Regions from separate parts of the Homo sapiens genome. Here regions 1, 2, 3 and 4 are each linked to region 5. The links are contacts of gene promoters, found by promoter capture Hi-C in blood cells and fetal thymus (Javierre and others, 2016). All regions are on one chromosome and are shown on one strand. Each heading gives the region's core, a stretch centred on a gene start or on the middle of the fragment in contact. The rest is flanking DNA. Distances are from core to core; before and after follow the strand shown.

The links. Contacts are between HindIII fragments. The CHiCAGO score rates a contact against its expected background, and 5 or more counts as called.
Region 1: the fragment with the promoter of VPS53 here is called in contact with the fragment with the promoter of DOC2B in region 5 in 13 of 17 cell types (naive CD4 T cells, endothelial precursors, total CD4 T cells and 10 more); the score reaches 11.9 in naive CD4 T cells.
Region 2: a contact is called between a fragment that was not itself captured here and the fragment with the promoter of DOC2B in region 5, in 8 of 17 cell types (naive CD8 T cells, naive CD4 T cells, total CD8 T cells and 5 more). The highest score is 9.6, in naive CD8 T cells.
Region 3: a contact is called between the fragment with the promoter of TLCD3A here and the fragment with the promoter of DOC2B in region 5, in 2 of 17 cell types (neutrophils and M0 macrophages). The highest score is 6.2, in neutrophils.
Region 4: a contact is called between the fragment with the promoter of NXN here and the fragment with the promoter of DOC2B in region 5, in 6 of 17 cell types (M1 macrophages, M0 macrophages, M2 macrophages and 3 more). The highest score is 10.9, in M1 macrophages.

The regions. Positions count from the first base shown.
Region 1 is chr17:710,665-716,088 of GRCh38, reverse strand. It overlaps VPS53 (VPS53 subunit of GARP complex), which reads left to right and starts at 1,250. Exons shown (of 22, transcript NM_001128159.3): 1 at 1,250-1,466. The coding sequence starts at 1,380. RefSeq lists an enhancer at 709-778. The HindIII fragment of the contact is 2,341 bases long and covers 779-3,119 here.
Region 2 is chr17:691,188-696,817 of GRCh38, reverse strand. The region is part of intron 4 of VPS53 (VPS53 subunit of GARP complex); the gene reads left to right. Among named protein-coding and RNA genes, the nearest start is that of VPS53, 21 kb to the left of the region's middle. The HindIII fragment of the contact is 231 bases long and covers 2,733-2,963 here.
Region 3 is chr17:729,780-735,055 of GRCh38, reverse strand. TLCD3A (TLC domain containing 3A) reads right to left here and starts at 2,460. Exons shown (of 5, transcript NM_024792.3): 1 at 2,287-2,460; 2 at 1,875-1,958. The coding sequence starts at 2,408. It overlaps LOC124903893 (a long non-coding RNA gene), which reads left to right and starts at 2,676. Exons shown (of 2, transcript XR_007065572.1): 1 at 2,676-2,877. RefSeq lists silencers at 2,044-2,143, 2,214-2,483, 2,504-2,983 and an enhancer at 4,953-5,247. The HindIII fragment of the contact is 13,049 bases long and covers 620-5,276 here.
Region 4 is chr17:978,439-983,620 of GRCh38, reverse strand. It overlaps NXN (nucleoredoxin), which reads left to right and starts at 3,845. Exons shown (of 8, transcript NM_022463.5): 1 at 3,845-4,302. The coding sequence starts at 3,943. RefSeq lists enhancers at 2,278-2,572, 3,997-4,932. The HindIII fragment of the contact is 5,276 bases long and covers 2,241-5,182 here.
Region 5 is chr17:180,153-185,591 of GRCh38, reverse strand. It overlaps DOC2B (double C2 domain beta), which reads left to right and starts at 3,942. Exons shown (of 9, transcript NM_003585.5): 1 at 3,942-4,485. The coding sequence starts at 4,113. It overlaps LINC02091 (long intergenic non-protein coding RNA 2091), which reads left to right. Exons shown (of 2, transcript NR_104420.1): 2 at 1,134-1,768. RefSeq lists enhancers at 3,057-3,558, 5,020-5,439. The HindIII fragment of the contact is 7,942 bases long and covers 529-5,439 here.

The DNA.
Region 1 (5,424 bases), core at 1-2,500, 530 kb before region 5:
TACTGCTCCTATTTTTTACTTTGAGCAACTCTGATAACAACAACAAAAAAAAGTTCAGTGGGGCCAACGCGTTTCCCTCCTGGAGTTTCCCGGTTCACCTGGTGGAGCGGGTCCTCCTTGGGCTGCAATTCCCTCCTTCTTTTCAGTGTCTGCAGGAAAGGTGGTTTCACAGGGTGATCGGTGATCTGGCTTATTTGTTCCTTTGTGGGGGTAAGGGCTGGGCACCTCACTATTTCCTGTATTACCAGCTTGAATTTACATCGCGCTGTTAATGTTTAATCCTCTCCACATCGACGCGGGGTAGTAATTTGTTCCAAGTCACACAACTTATCAATGGTGGACTATTCAGGACTTAGATCCCGGATATTCAACCTCAGTAAACGTCTCCCCAGCTCCAGGGCGCTGCGTCATCTGGCTTTAAAAAAACGTTTCTGGCCGGGCGCAGTAGCTCACGCCTGTCATCCCAGCACTTTGGGAGGCCGAGGCGGGCGGATCACGAGGTCAAGAGTTCGAGACCAGCCTGGCCAACATGGTGAAACCTCGTCTCCACTAAAAATACAAAAATTAGCTGGGCGTGGTGGCGGGCGCCTGTAATCCCAGCTACTCGGGAGGCTGAGACAGGAGAATCGCTTGAACCCAGCAGGCGGGGTTGCAGTGAGCCGAGATCGCGCCGTTGCACTCCAGCCTGGGCAACAAGTAAGACTCCGTCTCAAAAAAAAAAAAAAAAAAAAAAAAGACGTTTCTCCCCATAAGGAGGCTGCAGTCACCTCGAAAAGCTTCTGCGCAGAGCCCGGCGCACGGGGAATTTCTATCGAGTGGGCACTGTCCCGTCCTACGAATGTCCTTGGCGACATCGCCACTCGCCAGCTGGGATCACGTCGCCCCCGTGGCCGGGGACACCCGCTGCCACTGACCGAGGGGGCCCCGGGAGCTGAGAGGTCGCCGCTGCGCTGCCCGCGGAGGCTGTGGGCTGCGGTTGGCGACGCCGCAGGGCTGACTTTCATCCGGGCGTCCTGCTGGAGGCCAGACCCTACCCCAACCTCGGGGTCCTCAGTGCGGGGCGCGCCTTGGGGAGGGAAGAGGCCCCGCCCATCCTAAGGACGCGCTGAGGCCACGCGGGGCCGCCGGGATACTGCGTTGCCCGGGAGACACCTGACGTGACAGGAACGCCGCCAGTCTCAGTCCGCCGTGATCCCACAGTTCCCCGGTCCCGGAAGTGCCCTGGCCTGCCGGAAGTGCCGGAGCGGCTGACAGAGCGGCTGACGGAGCCGGGCTCACCAGGTCGCTGCCGCGAGGGAGTTGCTGTGCTGGGGCCTGGGTGGCGGCTGGAGGCCTGAGTTGGGCTCGCGGCGGGGGTCGGCAGGGGGCCGGGTGGCGGAATGATGGAGGAGGAGGAACTGGAGTTCGTGGAGGAGCTGGAAGCCGTGCTGCAGCTCACGCCCGAGGTGCAGCTGGCCATCGAGCAGGTAAGCGTTCCGCCCCTCAGGAGGGGAAACGGGAGTGCGGGAGGGGAGACGGCAGCTCCGGGCGCTGGGGAGGCCGCGGCGGGTGGACGGAGGGCCGGGGGCTCGCGGCAGAAGGGAAAGTGGAGGTGGGGAGGTGGTGCGGGTGAGAAGCGGTTTCTGAATCAGAAGGAAAGGAAAGAGAACCCTTTCTAGGCTTTGATTGTCTTTGGCGAGGGCTGGGGGTTCTGGTGGTTTTGGGGAAAGGAATTGTGCGCTTAGAGAGGACGACGCTAGGAGAATGCAGGCCTTGGGTGCCATCCTCAGATTCTGGGGACTGTGGGGGCTTCATGCATTTACCAGACTCGTGCCAACGCCCCGGTTTTGCAAGCTGGCACCTCGTGAGTGGCTTGGAACTGGGGGAAGGGAATGACTTTAATTTCTGAAGCGGACGGCAGAGAAGAGAGAAAGTGTTGAAAAATGACATCGTTACCATTCTTAAAAGGTTGAGAATTCCTACCGTTGAATAGTTTGGGTGAGGTTGGAGAATACTCCCAAGGGGCCTCTTTTCCCTTCAGGAACTTTTTTTTTTTTTTTTTTTTGAGACGGATTCTCGCTCTGTCGCCCGGGCTGGAGTGCAACGGCACGATCTCGGCTCACTGCGACCTCCGCCTCCCGAGTTCAAGCGATTCTCCTGTCTCAGCCTCCTGAGTAGCTGTGATTACAGGCGCACGCCACCACACCCGGCTAATTTTTTTTTTTTTTTGGGGTAAAGACGGGGGTTTCACCGTTTTGGCCAGGATGGTCTCGAACTCCTGAGCTCAAGTAACCCGCCCGCCTTGGCCTCCCAAAGTGCTGGGATTACAGGCGTGAGCCACCACGCGCGGCCCTGCCTGCAGGAACTCTTGCCTTTGCAAGTTTATTGAGTTTTTAAGGCTAATGATATTAGAAATAGTGATTTTTTTCTTTTCTTTTTTTCTTTTTTTTTGTTTTCTGAGACGGAGTCTCGCTCTTTCGCCCAGGTTGGAGTGTAGGGGTGCCATCTCGGCTCACTGCAACCTCCGCTTCCAGGTTCAAGTGATTCTCCTGCCTCAGCCTCCTGAGTAGCTGGGACTACAGGCAACCGCTACCATGCCTAGCTAATTTTTGTATTTTTAGTAGAGACCGGGTTTCACCATGTTGGCCAGGCTGGTCTTGAACTCCTGACCTCAGGCTATCCGCCCGCCTCGGCCTCCCAAAGTGCTGGGATTACAGGTGTGAGCCACTGCACCCGGTCAGAAATAGTGATTTCTAATACTGCAGGGTATTGCTCCTGATAAACGGAGAAAATCTCCCTTAAAGGAATTGTCATGAAGTTATATGATTTAAGAAAGGGATTTATGATTGAGGAAATGGACAATTCCATTATGCCTTATTTAATGACCCCTGGGAAACTTTTTTTTTTTGAGATAGGGTCTTGCTCTGTTGTCCAGGCTGGAGTACAGTGGCATAATCGTAGCTCACTGCAGCCTCGAACTCCTGGGGCTCAAGTGATAACCCTGCCTCAGCCTCCCGAGTAGCTGGGACTACAGGTGCATTCATTGACGCTTCGATGTGTGTTTTTCCAGTAGTGGTTGGATTACTTATACAACCAACTTTGTCCTAGCCTGAGAACGCCAAACCATTGGGCAGGAAGCTTTTAGTGTTCCGGCCACACGGCTCCACCACTTACCTCCTTTTGCCAGAAAAAGACATAACATTTCTGTTGCTCTTTGGACTAGTGGGCTCTCATGGAAGAAAAGAATAATGCAGTCAGTTACTGTTTGGTTGACAGGTATCAGAAAAGCACATTTTTGCTATTTCTTTTGTTTGTTTCAACAGCTTTTGGGGTACAGGTGGTTTTTGATTACATGGATGAATTACATAGCGGTGAATTCTGACATTTTTCCTATTTTGTAAGAATAAGTTTGAGTGATAGTATAGCAGACATCTTTATGTCAAGCAGAATTCAGACATCATTATGTCAAGATGAATTCAGAATTTTTTCTTACTTTAGCACTCTGAATGAAATTCTGTAGTAGCATACTTGTAAAGAGTAGTGATGTGTGAGGAGTCAGGAAGGGTTGATAAAATGGAATCACATTTTACTCCAAGATGAAGTCCCAGAGTCATTGCATAAGGTGAAAATTGGCTGGGCTCGGTGGCTCACACCTGTAATCCCAGCACTTTGGGAGGCCAGGGCGGGTGGATCACGATGTCAGGAGTTCAAGACCAGCCTGGCCAACATGGTGAAACCCCGTCTCTCCTAAAAATACAAAAATTTAGCTGGGCATGGTGGCAGGTGCCCGTAATCTCAGCTACTCGGGAGGTTGAGGCAAAGAACTGCTTGAACCCGGGAGGCAGAGGTTGCAGTGAGCTGAGATGGTGCCACTGCCTTCCAGCCTGAGCGACAGAGTGAGACTCCATCTCGAAAAAAAAAAAAAAAAAAAAGGCGAAAGTCACTCTAGACATGAAAATCACTCTGCCCTGAAGTTCTTTAAATTGCCCATGAAGGCCGGGTGTGGAGGCTCACGCCTGTAATCCCAGCACTTTGGGAGGCCGAGGCGGGTGGATCACAAGTTCAGGAGATTGAGACCATCCTGGCCAACACGGTGAAACCCCTTCTCTACTAAAAACACAAAAAATAAGCCGGGTATGGTGGCGAGCGCCTGTAGTCCCACCTTCTCAAGAGGCTGAGACAGGAGAATGGCATGAACCTGGGAGGTGGAGCTTGTAGTGAACCAAGATCGCGCTACTGCACTCCAGCCTGGGTGACAGCGCGAGACTCCGTGTCAAAAAAAAAAAAAAAAATTGCCCATGAAGTACCACGTATGCATCTCTGATAAGTCTAGGGCTGTTAGTTTTTTTCCTCCATCATTGGAACCAGTCATTCTTTTTTCAGCTGGCTTTTGTTAGGAGCCTTGTTACATGAAAACAATTTAAAACCTAGGACAGCACTAAAACCTAGGAGTCGTGAGAGGAATACAGAAACTGAGAGCAACTTGAGGAAATAGTTTGTATCTCTTGTATCCTGCTCTCTGTGGGTTATACTTTCCCTCTGGTGAGCACGTATCATTGAGACTGTGTAAATAACCTGTGTATATGTGCATTATGGAAACAGCAATGCTGAACATTTTAAAAAGAAAACATCTTCACTTTCTTCTCATCCACCTCCTCTTGATGTGGTAGAAGGCTTCAGCTTTTCTAACAGTTGTCTTGAAGATATTTTGATTTTTTGACTCTATATTTCTTTGGAAGGCTTCTTCAGAGATGAAGTTGCTTCCCACAGTTGTAACTCTATCAAGCTGGGTGAGACCCAGTGTCCAGTGGATAATTTGGCTGCTTGTATCATCCACCTTGTTGCGTGTTCTTCAGGTTGTTAGGGAGTTAGCTGTATGTCTTAGAGGTGGACTGTTTTTGAGAGAGGATCTCACTCTGTCGCCCAGGCTGGAGTTCAGTGATAGAATCTCGGCTCACTGCAACCTCAACCTCCTGGGCTCTGGTGATCCTCCCATCTCAGCCTCCCACGTAGCTGGGACTATGACAGGCATGTGCCATGGCACCCAGCTAATTTTTTTTTGTAGAGATGTGGTTTCACCATGTTGCCCAGGCCAGTCTCCAACTCCTGAGCTCAAGCGATCCGCGCAGCCTTATTTTAATTAATTAATTAATTAATTTAATTTTGAGACAGAGTCTTGCTCTTTCGCCCAGACTGGAGTGTAGTGGTGTGATCTCGGCTCACTGTAACCTCCGCCTCCCGGGTTCAAGCAATTCTCCTGCCTCAGCCTCCTGAGTAGTTGGGATTACAGGTGTGCGCCAACACCACACCCAGCCAAGTTTTTATTTTTAGTAGAGACCTGACCTCAGGTGATCCATCTGCTTTGGCCTCCCAAAGTGCTGTGATTACAGGCATGAGCCACCGTGCCCGGCCCTTTCCTTTTAATTGACAAATTAAAATTATATA
Region 2 (5,630 bases), core at 1,599-4,098, 510 kb before region 5:
TGTCTCAAAAAAAAAAAAAAAAAAAAGTTTTATAAGTCTTATTGGATCTAGTTAAGGAGGCCATTGGAGGGAATGAAGTAAGTCTTACTGGATCTAGTTAAGGAGGCTGTTGGAGGCAATGAAGGGAAAAGTGTGTAGGGAGGAGATACTCTTTAATAATTGAGGGGCCAGATGTTATCTGTGAACCATTTCCCTTTTTATTTGATTCTGTTCTTCTGTTGAGGCATCGTATTTCAGAATGGCTGTTGTAGTAGAAATGCTGAGCTTGCCTTTCTAGCCGTCCTCTCTTGCCATGTCCTGTCCTCCCTTATCAGCACTAACTCAGGTCAGGACTGCTTCTTTGCAATTGCTTCAATGCTGTGATTTCTCCTCTTTGACATTTTTTAGGACAGCTAATTTCTAAAAATGTTCATCCTGCTGCCCAGATTTGGAGTGGGAGGAGCATATAATCCTACGCTGAAATTTCCAGATCTCTGATATTTCTGTTTCCTTCTGCCAGTTGCTTACAGATATTAGGAGTCTCTTTCTTTTACATCTGTAGTTTTCCCATCTGTCTATTTTTACTACTTTATATCACTTTCTTTTTCCATTTTTCCACTTTATAGTCACTTTCCATTTGATAGCCAGTTTCCTTTGGCCTGTTTGTGAGTAGCTGGCCTTCTTGTCATCATCAGAATTTGTGTGTAGACACATTAGGTTCCTAAAACTGTTCTGGTTTTCTGGACTCCTGTATTTTTTTTAGCCCTCGTTACCTCGTTTTGTCTGTTGAGGTATATTTCATGAAGCATGGCTTCTTTGGCAGATGAGGCCCATGTAAATGGGACCTTCAGAGGGGTCCTACAGAGGGACAGGGCAGCCTCAAGCACTCCAGCTGCATTCTGCTGCTTAGCTGTCCTAATCTGTGTTTGATCGTATTGTCTACCTCTTCAGACACCGTATCAGCTCTGGCCACTAAATGAAATCCAAGGCCAGGCATGGTGGCCCACACCTGCAATCCCAACACTTTGGGAGGCCGAGGCGGGGAGATCACTTGAGCCTAGGAGTTCAAGGCCAGCCTGGGCAACATGACAAAACCCTGCATCTTCAAAAAGTACAAAATTAGCTGGGCATGGTGGTGGCCTGTGCCTGTAGTCCCAGCTACTGAGGAGGCCGAGACAGGAAGATCAGCTGAGCCAGGAAGTTCGAGGCTGCAGTAAGCCATCATCGCGCCACTGCACTCCAGCCTGGGAAACAGAGTGAGACCCTGTTTAAAAAAAAAAAGAAATCCAAATTCCTTTGCTTGGCATTCAAAATTCTGGTCTCCAATTCCAGTTTTGCCTCCTCTTGTGTTCTGTCTACACTGAAGACTTTGTGCTCTACGAGCATGCCTGTGCTTTCTGGACCTGTGCTTACAGACTCTTTTGTGCTTGAAATGCTTTTCCTCCTATTTCTTTAAGCCGCCGCATTTCCCAATCTTACCCATCCAAGGACCAGCTCAGATACTAGTTTCTTGACGATGTTTTCCATGGACCTTATCTGAATACACCAAGGAATCAGAATTTTGAACTGGAAAGGATTTGAAACTCATCTGGGCCCCTCCCCTCATTTTACAGAGGAGAAAATGGATTCCAGTGTCCCTCGATGTCCTTTCTCCATAAATCCCACAGCCCCATTCTTGTACTTTTCATTTGGCTTTTGGGGTCTCCCTTGACTTACCAGAGAACAAGTCTCATCCCTTTGATGTTTGTAAGCTCCTGGAAGGTAAGAACTGTATCTTTGTCATCTTTCTATTTCACTACACATAGGCCACATGCAATAACATTTTATTCAACTGAGCCAGGCACAATGGCTCATGCCTGTAATCTCAACACTTTGGGATGCCTAGGTGGGAGGATGACTTGAGGCCAGGAGTTTGAGACCAGCCTCGGCAACATAGCAATACACGTCTCTACGAAAAGGTAAAATAATTAGCTGGGTGTGGTAGTACAAGCTTCAGTGAGCTGTAATGGTGCCGCCGCGCTCCAGCCCGGATGACAGAGCGAGACCCCATCCCCAAAAGCAACAGCAAAACCCCCACAACATTTTATGCAACTGTATTGAATATTTTGTCTGTCTAAGATTGTTTATTAATTATAAATAAACAAAAACATTTTATCATAAAAACATCATTTTGATCAGCAAGTGGGTGTTCCTTAAAAGTGATTTAGAACTTGCTTTGTGCATTAAGAGTCCCAACTTGCTGCTACTGGGAATAGTAACACTGCTTGTTCAGTGTGATTCAGCCTACATTTGGAATGGCTCACTAGAAGTCTTACAGTGCAGGAGTCATAGATGTTTAAAATTTCAAGAATGTGAAAATAGTGAGTGATTCATCGGCATTTTTTGTTGGGTCATGCTGTGCATAATAGATGTGTATCTTTCAGTTATTTACGTTTCAACCTGTGGTTCTGGACTCTTGCAAACTAGCGGTATTACAGAGTCAGACCCAGAATTCGACAGTCTGCAGGAATGTCGGCGTTCTCCCCCATCCCGTATTAATAGGTTACAGGTTGCCGCAGCAGAGCAGGTCGTATTTCACAGAGCAAGACCACATTTTCAAGAATGTTTAGATAGCATTTCAATCTGTGATGGAACTTTGTATTCGTCTCCTTAGAATCCAGACAGAAAGGAAGCCCAGAAGAAATAACTGCTTTTCCTGTCATGGCCCCATCTGTCTTTTCCAGCACTTTGTAATGCAAACTGAAGTACAAGCTTTTTTTTTTCCAAGGAGCTCTTGGGTCCTGTCCTTGTCAACTCCTAGGTATGAAAGCCTTGCTCTCCAGCCCTGGCTGGCTGGTTTGCTAAAAGGAGTCTATTTGACTGCAACAGACTTGGTGGAATTACGGATGTTCCAAAATACTGAGTTTTGTAGGTCAAGAGGCCCCACGTTCCCCTCTTCCCTGGAAGAGAAGAGAAGTTTGCTTTCAGCACTCGCTTCCTAAGCTTCTGAAGAACACTCAGAAGGGAGTGGCATATGGACAAAAGGAGGTTTTCGTTTTATAAATTTAATCTTGATTGTGTTTAACCAGAACCGATGTGCCGCTTTTAAATTTGTATTTATTATTATCATGTTAGGGACAGGGTCCTGCCTTGTTGCTCAGGCTGGAGTGCAATCATTTTTCACGGTAACCTTGAACTCCTGGGGCCAAGTGATCCTCCCACCTTAGCCTCCGAAGTAGCTAGGACTACAGGCATGTGCCACCACACACAGCTATTTTTAATTTTTAATTTTTTATTTTTGGTAGAGATGGGTTCTTGCTGTGTTGCCCGGGCTGGTCTTGAACTCCTGGCCTGAAGTGATCCTCCTGCCTTGGGCTCCCAAAATGCTGAGATTATAGGCATGAGACACTTATTATTACAAGTCGTCCCCACTTACCTGTGGGGGATACATTCCAAGACCCCCAGTGGATGCCTGAAACCCAGAGAGTAGCAAACCCTATATATGCCATATTTTTTCCTATGTATACATACCTGTGATAAATTTTAGCATGCAAATTAGGCACAGTAAGAGATTCACCACAATAACTGAAAATAAAATAGCACAATTATGACAGTATGCCAGCATCACTCCTCTTGTGATTTGGAGCTGTATGTAATAGCCGAGATGGCTGCTAGGCTATACCCAGCCTAGATGTGCTTCTTGCTTCTTTGTTTTTTGTTTTGTTTTTGAGTCAGAGTCTCGCTGTCAGCCAGGCTGCAGTGCAGTGGTGTGATCTCGGCTTACTGCAACTTCTGCCTCCTGGGTTCAAGCGACTCTCCTGCCTCAGCCTCCTGAGTAGCTGGGATTACAGGCATGCACCACCACGCCTGGCTAATTTTTGTATTTTTAGTAGAGACGGGATTTCACCATGTTGGTCAGGCTGGTCTCAAACTCCTGACTTCATGGTCCGCCCGCCTCGGCCTCCCAAAGTGCTGGGATTACAGGTGCGCACCACCATGCCCAGCTCATTTTTGTATTTTTAGTAGAGACAGGGTTTCACCATGTTGGTCAGGCTGGTCTCAAACTCCTGACCTTGTGGTCCGCCCGCCTCGGCCTCCCAAAGTGCTGGGATGACAGGCGTGAGCCACCGCACCCGGCTAGGTGTGCTTCTATATCTGTAAATAAGGGGAAAGTGTTGACTTCACATTCATGGTGTCTTAAATGACATTTTTAGCAGAAAAGTTGCTTTTGAAAAGCAATGTTTTTGACTCAAAAATTATTTGGGGGTAAGGAATGATTTAAATATTGAAGGCATAATTAGGTCATTTCTTGAGCTTCTTGAAGTTTCTGAAATACCAGCCGCTTGGTTAACATTCTGCTAAACGTTTGCAGAGTCTTTGTTTTTTGACCACCTTCTATGTGGGCCAGCTTGAACTGGTCTAGTCTGTGACCTCTTCTAACCAGACGATGATGCTCTTATAAAGTTTATATGGCACGGAATCCTCCCCATTTTTATCTGTTGAAATCATCAGTCAAAAGCTTTAATTAAATGCCCACGTTTAAAACTTTGTGGATGAGTCAATTCAACAAGTACATGATGTGGTATGCTATGAAATTTTTGCAGCTTCCCAAGAATTAAAATGGATGGCTTGAACGTAGGTGAAAGAGAGGTGAATAGAGGGGCGGGTTAGAGGAAGAAAAAGCCGGCAGTGGGAAGTTTCAAGAGTGGCCAACGTTGACCGGTCGTCAGTAAGCTCTCAGACTCACAGGAGAGGATCAGCCACCGAGTTTCTGTCTCTTCAATGGAGCCTGGCTGCAATGTAGCCATTTCTTTGATCAGAACAAGAGTAAGGTTTGGGAGGAGAAGAGAATTATTACAAGTCGTCCCCACTTACCTGTGGGGGATACATTCCAAGACCCCCAGTGGATGCCTGAAACCCAGAGAGTAGCAAACCCTATATATGCCGTATTTTTTCCTATGTATACATACCTGTGATAAACTTTAGCATGCAAATTAGGCACAGTAAGAGATTCACCACAATAACTAAAAATAAAATAGCACAATTATGACAGTATGCCAGCATCACTCCTCTTGTGATTTGGAGCTGTATGTAATAGCCGAGATGGCTGCTAAGTGACTAATAGGTGCTGTATTCAGCATGGATATACTGGGTGAAGGAATGATTCGTGACCTGGTCAGGACAGAATTGGGTGGTGCAAGATTTTATCACACTACTCAGAATGGCGCATAATTTAAAATTTACTAATTGTCTGTTTCTGGAATTTTCCATGTAATATTTTTGGACCACAGTCAACTACAGGTGGCTAAAACCTCAGAAAGTGAACTGCTGATAAGGAGGGGGTGCTGTATTGCTCACTCCTTCGCTTTGGAAGAAGGATTAGGTAATTGTAGTACAATCTTCCACCCAGTTCAGGAGTCCTTTGTATTACATCTCTGACGTTTCATTATCTTGCAGAAGCTTGGCTACTTTCAGTGATGGGGAGCTTGCTACTTTGTTGGTCCACAGGACAGACTAGTTCAGTTTTATAGCTTTAGTTGTGAGAAACTCCTTTCTTAGACTGAACTGAAACAGTGAAATAGACTTCATTGTAACTTCTTGTTGATCTTAGTTCTGCCAGCTGGATGGGTGTAAGCCTAATCCCTTTTCCTTACTACAGCTTCTGAAATTGA
Region 3 (5,276 bases), core at 1,211-3,710, 550 kb before region 5:
GTGAGACTCCATCTCAATAAAAAGAAAGGCGGCGGGGAGGGGGAGTCCTTTTAAATGTTAAAAGGTACTATACAGGCTGGGCACGGTGGCTCACACCTATGATCCCTGCACTTTGGGAGGCCTGAGTGGGAGAATGGCTTGAGCCCAGGAGTTCAGACCAGCGTGGGTGACAGAGCCAGACCCTGTCTAAAACAACAACGTACTATCTGAATTAAGTACTTAAATTGAGAAAACCACCTGGAGCTGTGACTTTGTCATTTTAGTGTCTGAATCCTTTAAGAATCTGACTAAATCCTTGGCCCCATACCACCTTCTGCCTATAATTTGGGGGGATTTTTAACTCCTTCTATCTAATCGCATTCTATGTGAAGGCATAAAATGAGAAGGCATATAATAGAAAAATATTCAGTATATAGTATATGAACCCTGAAAGGCCTTTTTTGGCTGGGTGCAGTGGCTCACGCCTATAATCCCAACACTTTGGGAGGCCCAGGCAGGAGGATCGTTGGAGCCCAGGAGTTCAAGACCAGCCTGGGCAACGCAGGGAGACCCCTGTCTCTACCAACAACAACAAAAAAAAGTTAGCCAGGTGTAGTAGTGTGTGCCTGTAGTCCAAGCTTGGGAGGCTAAGGAAGACGGGTGGCTTGAACCCTGGAGTTCAAGACTACAGTCAGCTGTCATTATGCCACTGCACCTCAGCCTGAGGTCTCGACAGGAAAAAAAAAAAGTAAAAAATTTGCTGGGTGTGGTGGCTCATGCCTGTAATCCCAGCACTTTGTGAGGGTGAGGCAGAAAAATGACTTGAGCCCAGGAGTTCAAGACCAGCCTGGGCAACATAGTGAGACCCTGTCTTTAAAAAAAAAAGAAGAAGAAGAAGAAGAAAAATTGTACCCAGCCACACCAATATTAACCTTTGGTGTCTACAATCGATGTCACTTGATCTATCGTAGCATCTACTTATTCATCGCCAATAGCCAGTTTTGTTTTTAAAAAGGCAGAAGAAAAGCACAAAAATCATGACAGCAGGATTGATCCCAGGTAAGACCGCAGGCTAGAGTGAGACGGACAGCTTGCTCAGGCCCCTCGCAGTTCAGTCTCAGCAGGTGAGAAGCAGGACTTGGCAGAGCCCACAGGAGAGCAGGGCCTGGAAAGGCCGTTCAACTTCCTGCACATCCGACTGTGGTCCTTCAACTTGGGAGAAAGTGAGTGTGATTCCAGCAAGACCGGTGGGGAAAAAAAAGGCTTGAAATAATAAAAGCACCACCATTGTCCAGGTCTAACTACTGTACAAAGTCGACTATTCTGGTCTTAATTTATGATTTGTTTCACTGGAACTGCAGATAGGTGCACATTTCCTGACCTGCCTCTGGACTGACCTCTGATAGACGTACAAGTCCGTGTTCTAAGCGCTGGGAACCTCTCAATCACCTTTAGCAAATCTGCAGGAAAAGCAAGAGCGGCGTTTGCGTGGAAGGGGGTGGTGGGTTGGTTCCTTTCCATGGAGGGGGCTCTGCTAACCACACTGGACGTCTGTTAGCCAGTGATGCTCCAGAGTGAGAACCCAGTGAAGCCAACTGCAAGAATCAAGCCACACTCCCAGTCGTAAATGCTTCCACGCTTATCTCTTCCATGAAGGACCTGGATCCCTGGCTCACACCACCTGAAATCAGACTCCGACTCTGTCGTCCTCCCTCATTTCCGTGGACTTTCTCCTAAGCTGGGGGTGCCCGAAGACTCCGGAGAGGAAGAAGGAGCCCATTGTGGTGCCAGCTTTTCCCATTAGTCAGCTTTCTGAGCGCGTGTGCTGCGAGAGCCAGAGCCTGCGAGCTACTGAAATGTGACATTTGCAACAAGGCCCCGGCCCGGGCTCTTACCTGCCGGTGATCACGTCGTCGCAGGAGCGAATGATGACGATCCCCGAGCCGGTGGCCAGCACGGCGTGCACCGAGGAAACCAGCCTAGCGCGGGCGGAGAGAACAGCGCGCGCGCTCAGTCCGGTCCGAGGACCGCAGGGAGCCCGGCCCGGCCCTTCGGCCTGACTCTCCCCAGCCGCAGGCAGATGTGGGGAGCGGGCTCCGGAGGCTCATCGGCCATTCCCGCCCGCCCCGGCCCCGCTCCCGCCAGGGGAGGACGCGGAGGGGCTTCGGAAACTCGGGCCGCCGGGACGCGGAGGGAGCAGCCCCCGGGCTTCCTGCCGCCCCCCTTTTCCGCCCTGGGCCCCGCGGCCGGGTGGGGTGCGGTGGGCAGCGCCCCGGGCCTCGGGGGGCGTCTCGGCGGCGCCGGTACCTGGTGCTGATCATCACGCAGTCGGTGCGGCTCCATCCGGGCTGGGAGCGGCGCAGCGCCCAGGTGCAGAGCGCGAAGAGCCCCGGGAAGAAGAGCGCGCCCCCGGCCAGCGTCAGCAGCATCGGGGCTGCGGGTCCGGCCGCCTCGCTGGCGCCGCGTGGCTGGGTTCGGCTCGGCGCGCCCCGGCCCGGCCGCGCGATTTCAACCCTCCGCCCCCGTCCCCGTCCCGCCTCCGCCCGGCGCTGGCCCCGATCCCGCGGCGCGGCTCTGCGCGTGACCAGGCCCGGCGGCTGCGATAGGGCGGGGCGGGGTCTCTCGCGGTCCCTGGGCCCGGAGGGTTCCCCGGCGTCCCCGGCGGGCGGGTGGGCGGGGGCGGAGGCGGGGACCGAGGCGGCGGCTGTGGCCGGGGCCGCGGCGCGCGCGCGTTCCGAGTCCGCCGCTCCCTCCCGAGCGGCCGCGGGGCCCAGGCGGAGGCGGGAAGGGCCGCGGCTCCCGGCTTCTGTTCCGTCAGCGGACGCGCCCCTCCCCGACCTGCTCTTCTCGCCGGCCCCGGGCGAAGGGGCGGGGTGGGCGCGGGGCCGAGGAAGCCAGGTAGGAACCCCCTCCGGGGTGGGGCGAGGCCCGCGGGGAAGGAAGGAGGGAGGCGGCGTGTGGCCCTGGGTTCGCGGGCCCCGTCCACCAAGCCCTGGTGCTTCTCGGTGGGAGGCCTCAGGATGTGGCCTCTCCCCGCACGGCCGAGATGCTTTTCCCGGTGCCGCCAGCGGCTGCAGCCGCTCCGGGGTGGCCCTCAGGAAGCGTGAGGTCCGGGGGCCTCCAGCAGCCCCTCTCCACCTGCACCAGGAGGCGGACTGTGGAGGCTGCAGGCTCTTACTGCCTCTCGGCTTTGGATCTATCCGGAGACACCATCCAGAGGCGTAGGGACTGTGGTGTTGTTCACAACGTGTCGTTATTTAAAAGTATCGGGGTCGGGCGCGCCTGTAACCCCAGCACTTGGGGAGGCCGAGGCGGGCAGATCACTTGACGTCAGGAGTTCGAGACCAGCCTGACCACCACGGTGAAACCCCGTCTCTACTAAAAATACAAAATTAGCCAGGTGTGGTGGTGCCTGTCTGTAGTCCCAGCTACTCTGGAGGCTGAGGCAGGAGAATCGCTTGAACCTGGGAGGCAGAGGTTGCAGTGAGCCGAGATCACGCCACTGCACTCCAGCCTGGGCCACAGAGCAGGACTCTGTCTCAAAAAACAAACAAACAAACAAACAAAAAAACAGTTATCGGGACAGGCGTCTAAACTTGAATGAATTGGAATACATTTCATTTGTGCCAAGCACCAATCACATGGATGAAGACAGGAATTTCAGTATCATTGGCTTCTGTCCTTTAGGAACTACCAGCTTTATTTTGCTTTGGTCTGTATCTTCCTCAGCTAACAAACGTAGGGGGTGGGAAATACAGTTCATTTATGTTACTACAAATGAAAGGTATGACGGGTCTCCTCAGATCACCGTCATGCAAAATGCTGACCAAAATCCCGTATGAGGACTTCGGAACAGCTGGGCTCGGCTCTCTGGGCCACGATTTGCTGGTCCGTGAAATGAGAGGGAGGCTGGATCACTAGCTCTTTAACGGTCTTCCAGCTCTAGATTCTTATGAGTCTATGACTTTTACAAAGTGGCAGATGATTTCTGTTAGGTGCCAGTTAAATTACTTTAACACGGCAGTTAGTGATGTAGGAACTGGTGTAGAGTGAGCACAGCTTTTGTTTTTTTCAATTTGGATTCATTCATGATGGAGTCTGAAGATGTTTCTCAGGTTTAAAAGATAGTTTTCCTTCAGTGGTAGTATCAGTTACTAGGCTGTGACCTTTTGGAATGAATGTAGCCTCTAACATCTTCCTATATGTGGTTAAGAAAAGGGACTTAGCCAACAGGACGGTGGCAGACAGCCTCAAGAAAAGCCTCAAACTTCGTCCACTTAGGGCAACATCTCTAACTCCCAAATTCACTGCTGACATACTCAGTGAAAGGAGAAAGCCACTTCAGGTTGGTCCCAAGATATCTGACAAATGCGACGCTCTCTTTATTTTCACATTCGCTTGTGGACAAAACCAGCTACCTGTGAACTCTCCATTCTCTCCAGGAAAACGACTCTGTGCAGTCCACTGTCTCTTTCCTAAGCATTTATCACAGTGACCTCCAGCGCCAGTGTTTCCAGAGAGTGACAGGTGGTTACAAGTCCTCCCTGCCTTCCCTCCTTAAAGGGAGCAGCAGCTTGGCAGTGAGTATGCTGGCACCTTTGAGTGGTGGGAACCAGTCTCCCCTACACAAGAAGCTGTAAGGCATCTTTATGAGTTGAAAACAAAACAACCGATGTTTCATGTATAGAAAATAGCAAGTAAAGGCCGGGCGCAGTGGCTCATGCCTGTCATCCCAGCACTTTGGGAGGCCGAGGCGGGCGGATCACGAGGTCAGGAGATCGAAACCATCCTGGCTAACATGGTGAAACCCGGCCTCTACTAAAAATACAAAAAGTTAGCCGGGCGTGGTGGCGGGCGCCTGTAGTCCCAGCTACTCGGGAGGCTGAGGCAGGAGAATGGCATGAACCCGGGAGGCGAAGGTTGCAGTGAGCCAAGATCGTGCCACTGCACTCCATCCTGGGCAACAGAGCAAGACTCTGTCTCAAATAAAAAAAAAAAAAAGAAAAAAGAAAATAGCAAGTAAGATCAGTTTCAACACCATGCTCAGTGAAGTCACCAGACTGTTTATGTTGAATCACCATAAAGCTAACAAGCAGAAACATGAACCTTAGCTTTTCAAGCGATCAAACCCCTGTCGGCAAATGGTAAGGCCAAATGAAAAACACGGGGCCTGGTTTACACAAACTTCCCCTCATCCTTCAAAAGTCTCGAATCAGCTGTTTCCTTCTCTAAGAAGGTTTCCAGGTCTGCCTTTGGGTTTGGGTAACGAGGCTGTTGTTTTCTCATTTGTATGTTTC
Region 4 (5,182 bases), core at 2,596-5,095, 800 kb before region 5:
TGTGTGTGTATATATATACTTTTTTTTTTTTTTTGAGATGGAGTCTCTCCCTGTCGCCCAGGCTGGAGTGCAGTGGTGCGATCTCGGCTCACTGCAAACTCCGCCTCCCGGGTTCATGCCATTCTCCTGCCTCAGCCTCCCGAGTAGCTGGGACTACAGGTGCCCGCCACCTCGCCCGGCTAATTTTTTGTATTTTTAGTAGAGACGGGGTTTCACTGTGTTAGCCAGGATGGTCTCAATCTCCTGATCTCATGATCTGCCCGCCTCGGCCTCCCAAAGTATTGGGATTACAGGTGTGAGCCACCTCACCTGGCCTAGTAACTTAATATATATGATATGAGTAGCTTTAAATGTTTTCACCAAGGCCGGGTGGTGGCTCATGCCTGTAATCCCAGAACTTTGGGAGGCTGAGGCGGGTGGATCACTTGAGGCCAGGAGTTTGAGACCAGCCTGGCCAGTATGGTGAAAACCCCGTCTCTATTAAAGATACAAAAAATTGGCCAGGCTTGGTGGCGGACGCCTGTAATCCCAGCTACTCCAGAGGCTGAGGCAGAGAATTGCTTAAACCTGGAGGGGCGGAGCTTGCAGTGAGCCGAGATCGCGCCACTGCACTCCAGCTTGGGCAACAGAGCAAGACTCTGTTGCAAAAAACAAACAAACAAAACAAAACAAAAAAATTAGTGCATGCCAGTAATCCCAGCTATTTGGGAGGTGGTGCATGCCTGTAATCCCAGCTACTCGAGAGGCTGAGGCAGGAGAATCACTTGAATCTGGTAGGCAGAGGTTGCAGGAGCTGAGATCGCACCACTGCACTCCAGCCTGGGCAACAGAGTGAGACTCTGTCTGTAGGGACCAGCCCCACAGGGTCAGTGGGTCTCTCCCCGTGTGCGGAGACGAGAGAGTGTAGAAATAAAGACACAAGACAAAGAGATAAAAGGCAGCTGGGCCTGGGGAACCACTACCACCAAGTCGCGGAGACCGGTAGTGGTCCCAAATGCCAGGCTGCACTGATATTTATTGGATACAAGACAAAGGGGCAGGATAAGGAGAGTGAGCCATCTCCAATGATAGGTAAGGTCATGTGGGTCACGTGTCCACTGGACAGGGGGCCCTTCCCTGCCTGGCAGCCGAGGCAGAGAGAGAGAGGAGACAAAGAGAGAAACAGCTTCCACCATTATTAGAGACTTTTAGTACTTTCACTAATTTGCTACTGCTATCTAGAAGGCAGAGCCAGGTGTACAGAATGGAACATGAAGGCGGACTAGGAGCGTGACCACTGAAGCACAGCATCACAGGGAGACAGTTAGGCCTCCGGATAATTGTGGGCGAACCTGCAGTCAGGCCCTCCACAAGAGGTGGAGGAGTAGAGTCTTCTCTAAACTCCCCCCGGGGAAAGGGAGACTCCCTTTCCCGGTCTGCTAAGTAGCGGGTGTTTTTCCTTGACACTTACGCTACCGCTACACCACAGTCCGCCTGGCCACGGGTGTCTTCCCAGACGCTGGTGTTACCGCTAGACCAAGGAGCCCTCTGGTAGCCCTGTCTGGGCATAACAGAAGGCTCGCACTCTTGTCTTCTGGTCACTCCTCACTATGTCCCCTCAGCTCCTATCTCTGTATGGCCTGGTTTTCCCTAGATTATGATTATAGAGCGAGGATCATTATAATATGGGAATAAAGAGTAATTGCTACAAACTAATGATTAATGATATTCATATATAAGCCTATCTAAGATCTATATCTGGTATAACTATTCTTATTTTATATTTTATTACACTGGAACGGCTTGTGTCCTCGGTCTCTTGCCTCAGCGCCTGGGTGGCCTGCCGCCCACACTGTCTCAAAATAAATAAATAAATAAATAAATAAATAAATAAAGTTTTCACTAAAAAGTGATGCTTTCTGTGTGTGTTTTATAATATTGTCCCTACAGTGGCACAGACTTTCAGCATGAAAGTCTCCTGAGAATTAAGGTGGAATTCGACTTTGCAGTAGGATTCTAGGGTGTTCGAAGGCGGTCCTCCATCTAAGATCTTACCTGTGTCATTAGCAATACCAGCAGGTGACTAAGGAAGTGGATATAACTTGTAGAGACGCCAGTCCACTTTCCGCTCCCATCTCCACCTCTCCCAATTGTTTTATATGGTAACATTTCACCAAGCTGGAACCCTGCACCATTCCTTATTCTACCCTAGAAAAACGGAGAACCTTCGATGTGAACACTTACGTTTTGTGCCAAAAGCTTGAAGTTCTATTCTGAGGTTTAAATTAGCTCCCGCAAAGCGTCCTATCATTTGTGTATGTGGAAAGCTGCTGTAAAATAAAAGCATTGTGCCTGGTGTCCCGGCAGTGTCTTTTCACAAATGGAGTTTGGTCGGCCTCATTTTTCACTCTTTCCATTAGGTGGCGATGGATGCACAGGAAATATCCTCCGAAGCGGCGGTGGAAGCTCTGAGAGGGGCGGGTTTTCAGCTTTTATTTTTTTGCTTTCGCTGAGTCGTCAGTAGCTGATCCACACCGGCGGCCTGTTACTGTGGCTGGGCCCGGATCTGCACCTGCTTCGTGCACCAGTGGGTTGGGTTGGGGGGAGGCGCTGCGTGGCCAGAGTACTCGCCACGGACCACCTGTTTTTTTGTTTTTTTTGAGACGGAGTCTTGCTCTGTTGCCCAGGCTGGAGTGCAATGGAGCGATCTCGGCTCACTGCAGCCTCCGTCTCCCGGCTTCACGCCATTCTCCTACCTCAGCCTCCTGAGTTGCTCGGATTACAGGTGCCTGCCACTACACCCCGCTAATTTTTGTATTTTTAGTAGAGGCGGGGGGGGGGTGTCACCATATTGGCCAGGCTGGTCTCGAACTCCTGACCTTGTGATCCACCCACCTCGGCCTCCCAAAGTGCTGGGAATTCAGGCGTGAGCCACCGCGCCCGGCCCAGACCACCTGTTTAATCCAGCTTCTCCCTAAGCATTGGGGAGCATCCTGCCAGCTGGTAGGAAAAAAAAAATCTCTAGAAATGTTCTCAACTATCCATAGACTTGACATGAGGATGGAGCGGATTCAGGAGCGCGGCCAGCATTGGTCTGGAGGCCCCGCGGCGTCCTTTGCATCCATTTGTGGGGCTGGAAGACAGATTCGCTGGGGGGAGAGGCCCCGGCGACCCCTGGACGGAAATCCCACACTGAGACCTGGCACCCTAACCAGACCCCACCAGAAGCTGCGAGGGCGTCCTCGGCCCCCTTAGAACAGCTTGGAACACACAGAGGAGTCAGTGTCCAGCCAGGCCCGGCCTGATGCAGTGAGGACGGCGGGTCCTATAAGCATCTCAGGGTCAGTGGGGCCCGGAGCGGCCTAAGGGTCAGGCTTCGTGCAGGGAGAGGAGGAGGGAAAGGCCGGGGAGGAACAGGAAGAGGGTGAAGAGCTCCGCGGGGAGGGGGCGGGATCCCTGGAGGTCTGGAGGGAATTTAGAACTGGGGAGGAGAGAAAATGCGGGCCGGGCTGCAGCCCGGGAAAGCGCCGGCTCAGCGGGCCCTTCTCCTTTCTTCACTTCGGCCGTGGGCTTTCCAGGGAGAGTGCGGCGTTTCGGGTCCGGCTTCTCGCCCAAGCAGTCACCCCGCGCACCGCGGCCGGCAGCTGCGGACCCCGCCTGGGCGGAGAGCTCTGGCCACCGCCGGCCGCAAACGGGGCGTGGCGAGGGCGGAGGGGGCGTGGCGAGGGCGGGCGGAGGGGCGTGGCGAGGGCAGCCGAAGGGGCGTGGCGCGGGCCGCGGAGGGGGCGTGGCAGGGCGGGGGAAGGGGCGTGGCGCGGGCAGGCGGAGGGGGCGTGGCGTGGGCGGCCCTACTGGGCCGGGCTCTGCTCTCCCCAGCGCCTGCCGCCGACGCCGCCGCCTCCTCCCGCCGCGCGGACCGTGGAGCGGGGTCGCAGCCGCCTGCCCGCCCTGCGGTGGGCCAGGATGTCGGGCTTCCTGGAGGAGCTGCTCGGCGAGAAGCTGGTGACGGGCGGCGGCGAGGAGGTGGACGTGCACTCGCTGGGCGCCCGCGGCATCTCGCTGCTGGGTCTCTACTTCGGCTGCAGCCTCAGCGCCCCCTGCGCGCAGCTCAGCGCCAGCCTGGCCGCCTTCTACGGGCGCCTGCGGGGGGACGCGGCGGCCGGGCCGGGGCCGGGAGCGGGGGCCGGGGCGGCGGCGGAGCCCGAGCCGCGGCGGCGCCTGGAGATCGTCTTCGTGTCCTCGGACCAGGACCAGCGGCAGTGGCAGGACTTCGTGCGGGACATGCCGTGGCTGGCGCTGCCCTACAAGGAGAAGCACAGGAAGGTGAGCGGCGCGGGCCTCGCCGGCCCCTGCCCGCCCCCCACGCCCGTTACCCCTGCCCGCCCCCCACGCCCGTTACCCCTGCCCTCCGCCAACCCCGTTGTCCCCCTGCCCGCCCTCCACCCCCCGACCCCTGCCCCCAGTCCCCCGCCCCCCGACCCACTGTCCTCTCCCCGCCCCCCACCCCGCCGTCCCCGCCTCTGCCCCCCCCCCTTCCGCGCTGTGCCCGCACCCTCATCCCAGGACCCCTCTTTGGTTCGAGTGCTGCGCTGCGCCCGCCCTGGAAAGTTGGACCCCCCTCGGCCCCCGGGATCCCGGCTCGAGCCCCTCCGTCCGCACACGCTGGGAGCCTCGGGTGGGGGCGGCTGCGCTCGGGGATCCCGGTTCCGCGACCCCTTCACCCGCGAGCAGAGGCGCCAGGCCCTTCCTGCCTCCGCCGCCGACCCCCGCGGATTCCCACAGTGGGGAGGGGAGGGGAGGGGAGGGCGCACGCCCCCCGCCCGTGGCGCCCAAACCAGCGCGTTTCCTTTCTTTCCGGGAGAAACCTGCCTTCCCGGAGCCCCTTCCCCGGGGACCGGGGACCTGGGGGCCGAGGCCGAGGTCAGGAGAGGCGGCCGGTGACCGTGGCCGTGGCTGTGGCCGAGAAGGGCGCTCACGGCTCCGTCTCCCGCCCCCGCCTCCCCCGCCCCAGGCTGAGTTCGCGGCCACCGGGGAGCTTTGCATTGTCTGGCCGTCCAGCCTCCTCCCCAGACGCCTCCCGGGCGCGGGAACAGCCCGGGCTGTGCAGAGCTCAGCTGCGTGGTGGCCCCTGTGGTCCCGGGGTCTTCGAGTTAAGGGCTGAGCTGACCCCATCGATGCACATTGACTGGAAGAAGGAGGATTT
Region 5 (5,439 bases), core at 2,693-5,192:
CCAGCGAGTCTCAACCTTCACTGTGCACCAGAATCATCAGGGGCGCTTGTTAAGATGCATCCTGAGTGTGCACACACATATTCTGAGTCAGTGGGTGTGAGATGGGGGCCTGGAATCTGCATTATTGATAGACATCCTGGGCTGGGTGTGGCAACTCACGCTTGTAATCTCAGCATTTTGAGAGGCCAGGGCAGGAAAATCATTTAAAGCCAGGAGTTTGAGACTAGCCAGGGTAACATGGCAAGACCCCGTCTCTACAAAAATTTTAAAAATTAGCTGGGGATGGTGGTGCATGCATTTGGTCCCAGATACTTGAGAGGCTGAGTTGGGAAGATCACTTGAGCCTCGGGAGGTCGAGGTTGCAGTGAGCCATGATCACACCACTGCACTCCAGCCTCAGTGACAAAGTAAATAGACATGCTAGTGCTACAGATACCTGGACCATTTTTTAAAGAACCCACTGTATCTCACTTGACAGGAGGAGCCTTTGAGAGGGTCTGTGGGGAGTTGGGAGAAAGCTCAGAAGCTTGTTGGGAAAAGCAGAAGGCAGAGAGGCAAGGGCACAGGGCTTCTGAGGACTGTGACCAAGGGCAGACTCCATCCACTTAACTTTGCCAGAGGCTGGTCCAGCTGCCCAGCTGCCCACCTCAGCATGGGGAATGGAAGGCAACATGATTGATGAGCCTTTGGACATATCCAACTGCTTAGAGATGCCCACACATGCCAGCCAGCGCCCAGCCTTGGCAAGTGCATCCATTTCTCACCTGGTCCTGGCAGCAGACAGGGAGCAGCCAACCACATGTCACTGGTAGAGAAATCAAGGCAGGCACTGGGAGCGCAATGACAGTTTGCATCAGGAAGGTTTGCACCAGGACGATTTGCACCAGGAAGTTTTGCACTGGGACGGTTTGCACCAGGAAGGTTTGCACCACGACGATTTGCACCAGGAAGGTTTGCACCACGACGGTTTGCACCAGGAAGATTTGCAATGGGACGGTTTGCACCAGGAAGGCAGGGGCAACAGAATCACAATTCCCTGAGTGCCAGTTGCACACTGGGCACTGTGCTAAGCACTGTATACCCATCCTCACCTTTAACTCACACAACGTTGTTCTTATTCTCCCCCATTGCAGATGAGACCCAGGGCCTAAGTTAAACAACTTGCCCAAAGTCCGGTACGCTTAGGAGGAGGCACACCTGACTTTTGACTCTACGTCTGCCTACTCCCTGACCTATGCTCTTTCTAGAAAGTGGACACTTGCCCAGATAACACCACTTCTATCCACTTCTATCCCTCGGGGAGGCCCTACCCCATTTCAGCTGGGCTCAGAGCTGGGCAAATTCAGACCTAGAGTGGATTTCAACTCTGCCACCTGCCAAAGGGTAGACCCCAACATGCCATGTGTTTCTCCAGTGGGCATCCTTGGGTTCCCTGGCTCCATGCTTAGGAGGCTGGGCCCTCCACCTGACTTCTTCAAAGCCCTCCCCAAGAGCCAGCTCCTGCAGAGCCAAGAGCCATGAGCCGATCCTCCAAAAACCAGACCCATAGGACAAGAGGCCAGGAGAGAGCGGCCAGCTCTCGGTGAACACAGGTACAGGGCCTTGGCAGGCTCAGCAGTCAGGACGTCCAGGTCTCATCTCCAGTCTGCCTCTTGCTAGTCACTTGACCTCCCGCAGCCTCAGTTTCCCCATCTGTAAGATGATGACGACACCCTCCAGCTCCTTAGTAAAGGAATGATAAAATGACAGTTCAGCGTCTGTATTTTAATACCTGCGTCATTATGTAATCATTTTGTGATGCAGCCACCTCTGGCACAGAAAAAGTCACCCTGTGCCTATTTAAGGATTAATCCCCTTAAGCATTCCTGGAAATGAGAACCCCTCTGTGCCAGGCTGCCCTTCCAGGCTCTTCTGTCCTTTCCTTGGCCTTTGGCTCTTGGAAGGCTGAATATTTCTCCCACCAGGACCTCAGACTATCTTTAGGGAACCCCGGCTGGTTCATTCCCACTGTAACCCCTGAGGCTCTTGGCCTCCTCCCGTCCTCCTCTTCCTCCTCCTTTTTTTCCCTCCTTCCCCTCCTCCTCAGTTTGGGCTTCCCCTGTCCAAGAAGCCTCAGGATGAGCTTTGGGAACGAGGTTTTACCTGTGTTTCCAACTCTGCTCTGAGCCCCTGAGCTCTGTAGTGGAGGGGAGGAAAGGGAGAAGGGAGGGAAAGTGGAAGCATCGAACAGTCAGGACACTGGGCTCTCATCGCAGCTCTGCCGCCAGCCAGCAGTCACCCTGGACACATCCTTGTGCCTGAGCGCTAATTTCCTCCCCTGTGAAATGGGAACAGCAGGCCCTGCCTACATCGTGGGGTGGTTTAAGGAATCAATGAGATGACAGCTGTGAATGTTCTTGGCGCAGTACAACATATGCCATGTGTTTCTCCAGTGTTTTCAAAGGCCGGTAGTGCCCGCCACCACCCAGTTCAGAACTCACCACAAAACATGAATTTCTCATCACTTCTCACCATGAGTCTTGTCTTTCCAAAGGAAGGGAGAAGGGAAAGCCAGCTGAGCACCTCTTACCTGTCTGTGCTGGATGGGGCCTTGCCACAAGGCTGTGCAGTTGGAAATAGCCTCACTTCATAGATGAGGAAACCGAGGCTCAAAGAGGTCAAATAGCCTGCCAGAACTGTGCAGCTGGAAGCCACAGGCCAAGGCTTTGCCTCTCTTTCCTCTGCTCCCCATCACTCTGCAGGGGTTATGGTGGGGGAACAAGAGAGGCTTGGAGCCCCTCATTCAGATGCACCAAAGGCACCCACTAAGAAGCTAAGTGTCTTACACATCAGTGGAAACCAGAGGGTAAACAGGATTCCATCCATGCCCAGGGCTTTCCGGGAACACACCTGTCCAAGCAGCAGCAGTTCCCAACAGAGCTCTGGTCCCGGAAAGCCGGACAGCCAGGGCTGGGCCCTCTGGGATTTGTTTAGTGATCTGACCGTGTGGGAGGCCTAGAGTAGGAGTGGGGGTGGGGGGAGCGTGCCGCCCAGCCTTATTGCATCACTCACCGCCCAGGCCCTGCCCTCACTCCCTCCTGACCAGGCCCTGTGCAGGTTCTCAGCCACCCTGCCCCGGGGGGTCCTTCAGACTGTACTCACTGACCAAGTGAGGGACTGACCCGAGGTTAGAGTGCTGTGTTGTATGTGACCTGAGAATATGTGTGCACAGACTGAGCCCCGGTGTCCTTGTGCAGTTGAGCGTGTACATGTCCTGCCCGTGTGTAGGCAACCTGTCCCTACATGCTAGGAGTGTGACTCCACGTCCTGCTAGAGGGGGAGGAGAGAAGGAGTTGTGCCCAGGGTCCCCTGATCACTTCTATGGGCTCATGTTTGTGCATCTTGTTAGGGGTGCTTGGGGGTAGGGAAGCCTGTGCCCTGGGTGCCCTTGATCACCTGTGTGTGTGCTCCATCAGGTGTGCGCGCCTGTGCATTGGGGGTGTACTGTGTCACAGCTTCCTAAAACAACCATGTGCGCATGCAGACGTTTGCGTGTGTGACCTACGGTGTGAGCGAGCGGATGCTTCCACCACGTGTCTCTGCACACGCATGTGTGCACTTGCACACCTGCGTGTGTCCCGAGAGAGCGAGCGGAGCCCAGCGTGGGCTGGCACGCGCGGGAACGTGTGGGTGCGCGTCCTGCGGGTCCCTGCCGGGTTGACTCCCAGCTTGTGCCGCGGGCGTGCATGAGCGGAAGGCGCCCGGCGGCCCTGCCTGGCCGCGAGTGTGCGCGCGCGGGGTCCCGGGCCGGCGTGCACGCCGGTGTGAGTGCGAGTGCGAGTGAGTGTGGCGCCGCGCGGCTCCCTCCGCTCCGCGCCGCCCGCGCAGCCCGCACACTCACCCTGCTTGGTTGCTGCCGGGTGACGCGGGCTGGGCCCGCCCCCTGCCTGCCGGCCTCTGGCACTCGCTCGCGCCGTCCGCAGCGGAGCGGGCAGCGGCCAAGTCAGGGCCGTCCGGGGGCGCGGCCGGCGATGCCCGCAGCCCCCGCCGCGCCCCGCCGGGCCTGCTGAGCCGCCCCCGGGCCGGGGTCGCGCCGGGCCGGGCCGCGCCCGGGGCGGGGCGGCGCTGCCTGCATGACCCTCCGGCGGCGCGGGGAGAAGGCGACCATCAGCATCCAGGAGCATATGGCCATCGACGTGTGCCCCGGCCCCATCCGTCCCATCAAGCAGATCTCCGACTACTTCCCCCGCTTCCCGCGGGGCCTGCCCCCGGACGCCGGGCCCCGAGCCGCTGCACCCCCGGACGCCCCCGCGCGCCCGGCTGTGGCCGGTGCCGGCCGCCGCAGCCCCTCCGACGGCGCCCGCGAGGACGACGAGGATGTGGACCAGCTCTTCGGAGCCTACGGCTCCAGCCCGGGCCCCAGCCCGGGTCCCAGCCCCGCGCGGCCGCCAGCCAAGCCGCCGGAGGACGAGCCGGACGCCGACGGCTACGAGTCGGACGACTGCAGTAAGTTTCCCACGCGCCGACTTCGCGCCCCCTCCCCTGGCTCGGGCTCGGCCCCCCCACGGCCTCGCGGCTTCCCTCCGCCGGTCCCCCTCGCGCGCTCGCGCTCTGCCTCGGTTCACAACCCCGCCGCGGGCTTGCGGGCCCCTGGCGCACTCGGTGCGCTCTCCGCGCCCTGCCCACCGGCCTCGAGCCCTCCCCCGACCCAGGCCGGACAGGAGGGAAGTTCGGGGGCACCCCCTGGGGGTGTCCCATTTCCGGGGCCGGGTTCCTCGGAGCCGGCGCCGCGCCCCCTCCCTGCCAGCCCGCCCTCCCGGAGCTCCGGCGCGGGCGGCTGCTTTTGTTCCCGGGAAGGGCGGAGCTGCGTCCCGGGGAGACACCAGTTGCTGCCGGCCGCGCGGTCGCTCCCCGCTCGCCAGCCGCTCCGGGAGGGCCTCGCGGCCGAGGGTCGGGGCTGGGGCGAGCTGGGGAGGGGCCCGAGGCTGGGAGCGGCCCGGCCTCCCGCGTGGTCCCGGCGGCCCGCAGAGCGCAGCTGCTTTGCTGGCGCGCGAGCAGAGGACCAGGAGGACCGCGGGGCCGCTTGTCCTTTGGAAAAACCTTGGCGTTTCCTCCTCCGGTGTCCATGGACCCCGCCGCAGCCCTCGCCAGGGCCGCGCACCTTCGCCCACCTGTTACGCCCGCGGCCCCCGGGCAGAGAGGGCCCCCCAGCCCGCTCCCCCTCCTCCCGGACTGAGCCCTGAGCCCCCGGGAGCAGGCAAGCGCCGGAGTCCCGGGACCGAGGCCCGGCCGGTGGGCGCTCCTGGCGCCTTTTCCCGTCCCCGAGGGTGCCTGTCCGGCCCGAGCCGGGACTGGCTGGGAAACCGAGGCCGGAAGAGGTCGCAGTCCAGTGAGGAGTCGGTTTGCGCGGGGTGGGGATGGCATGTGAGAACCCCCTCCTAGCTCAGCTGTGGCTCCAGA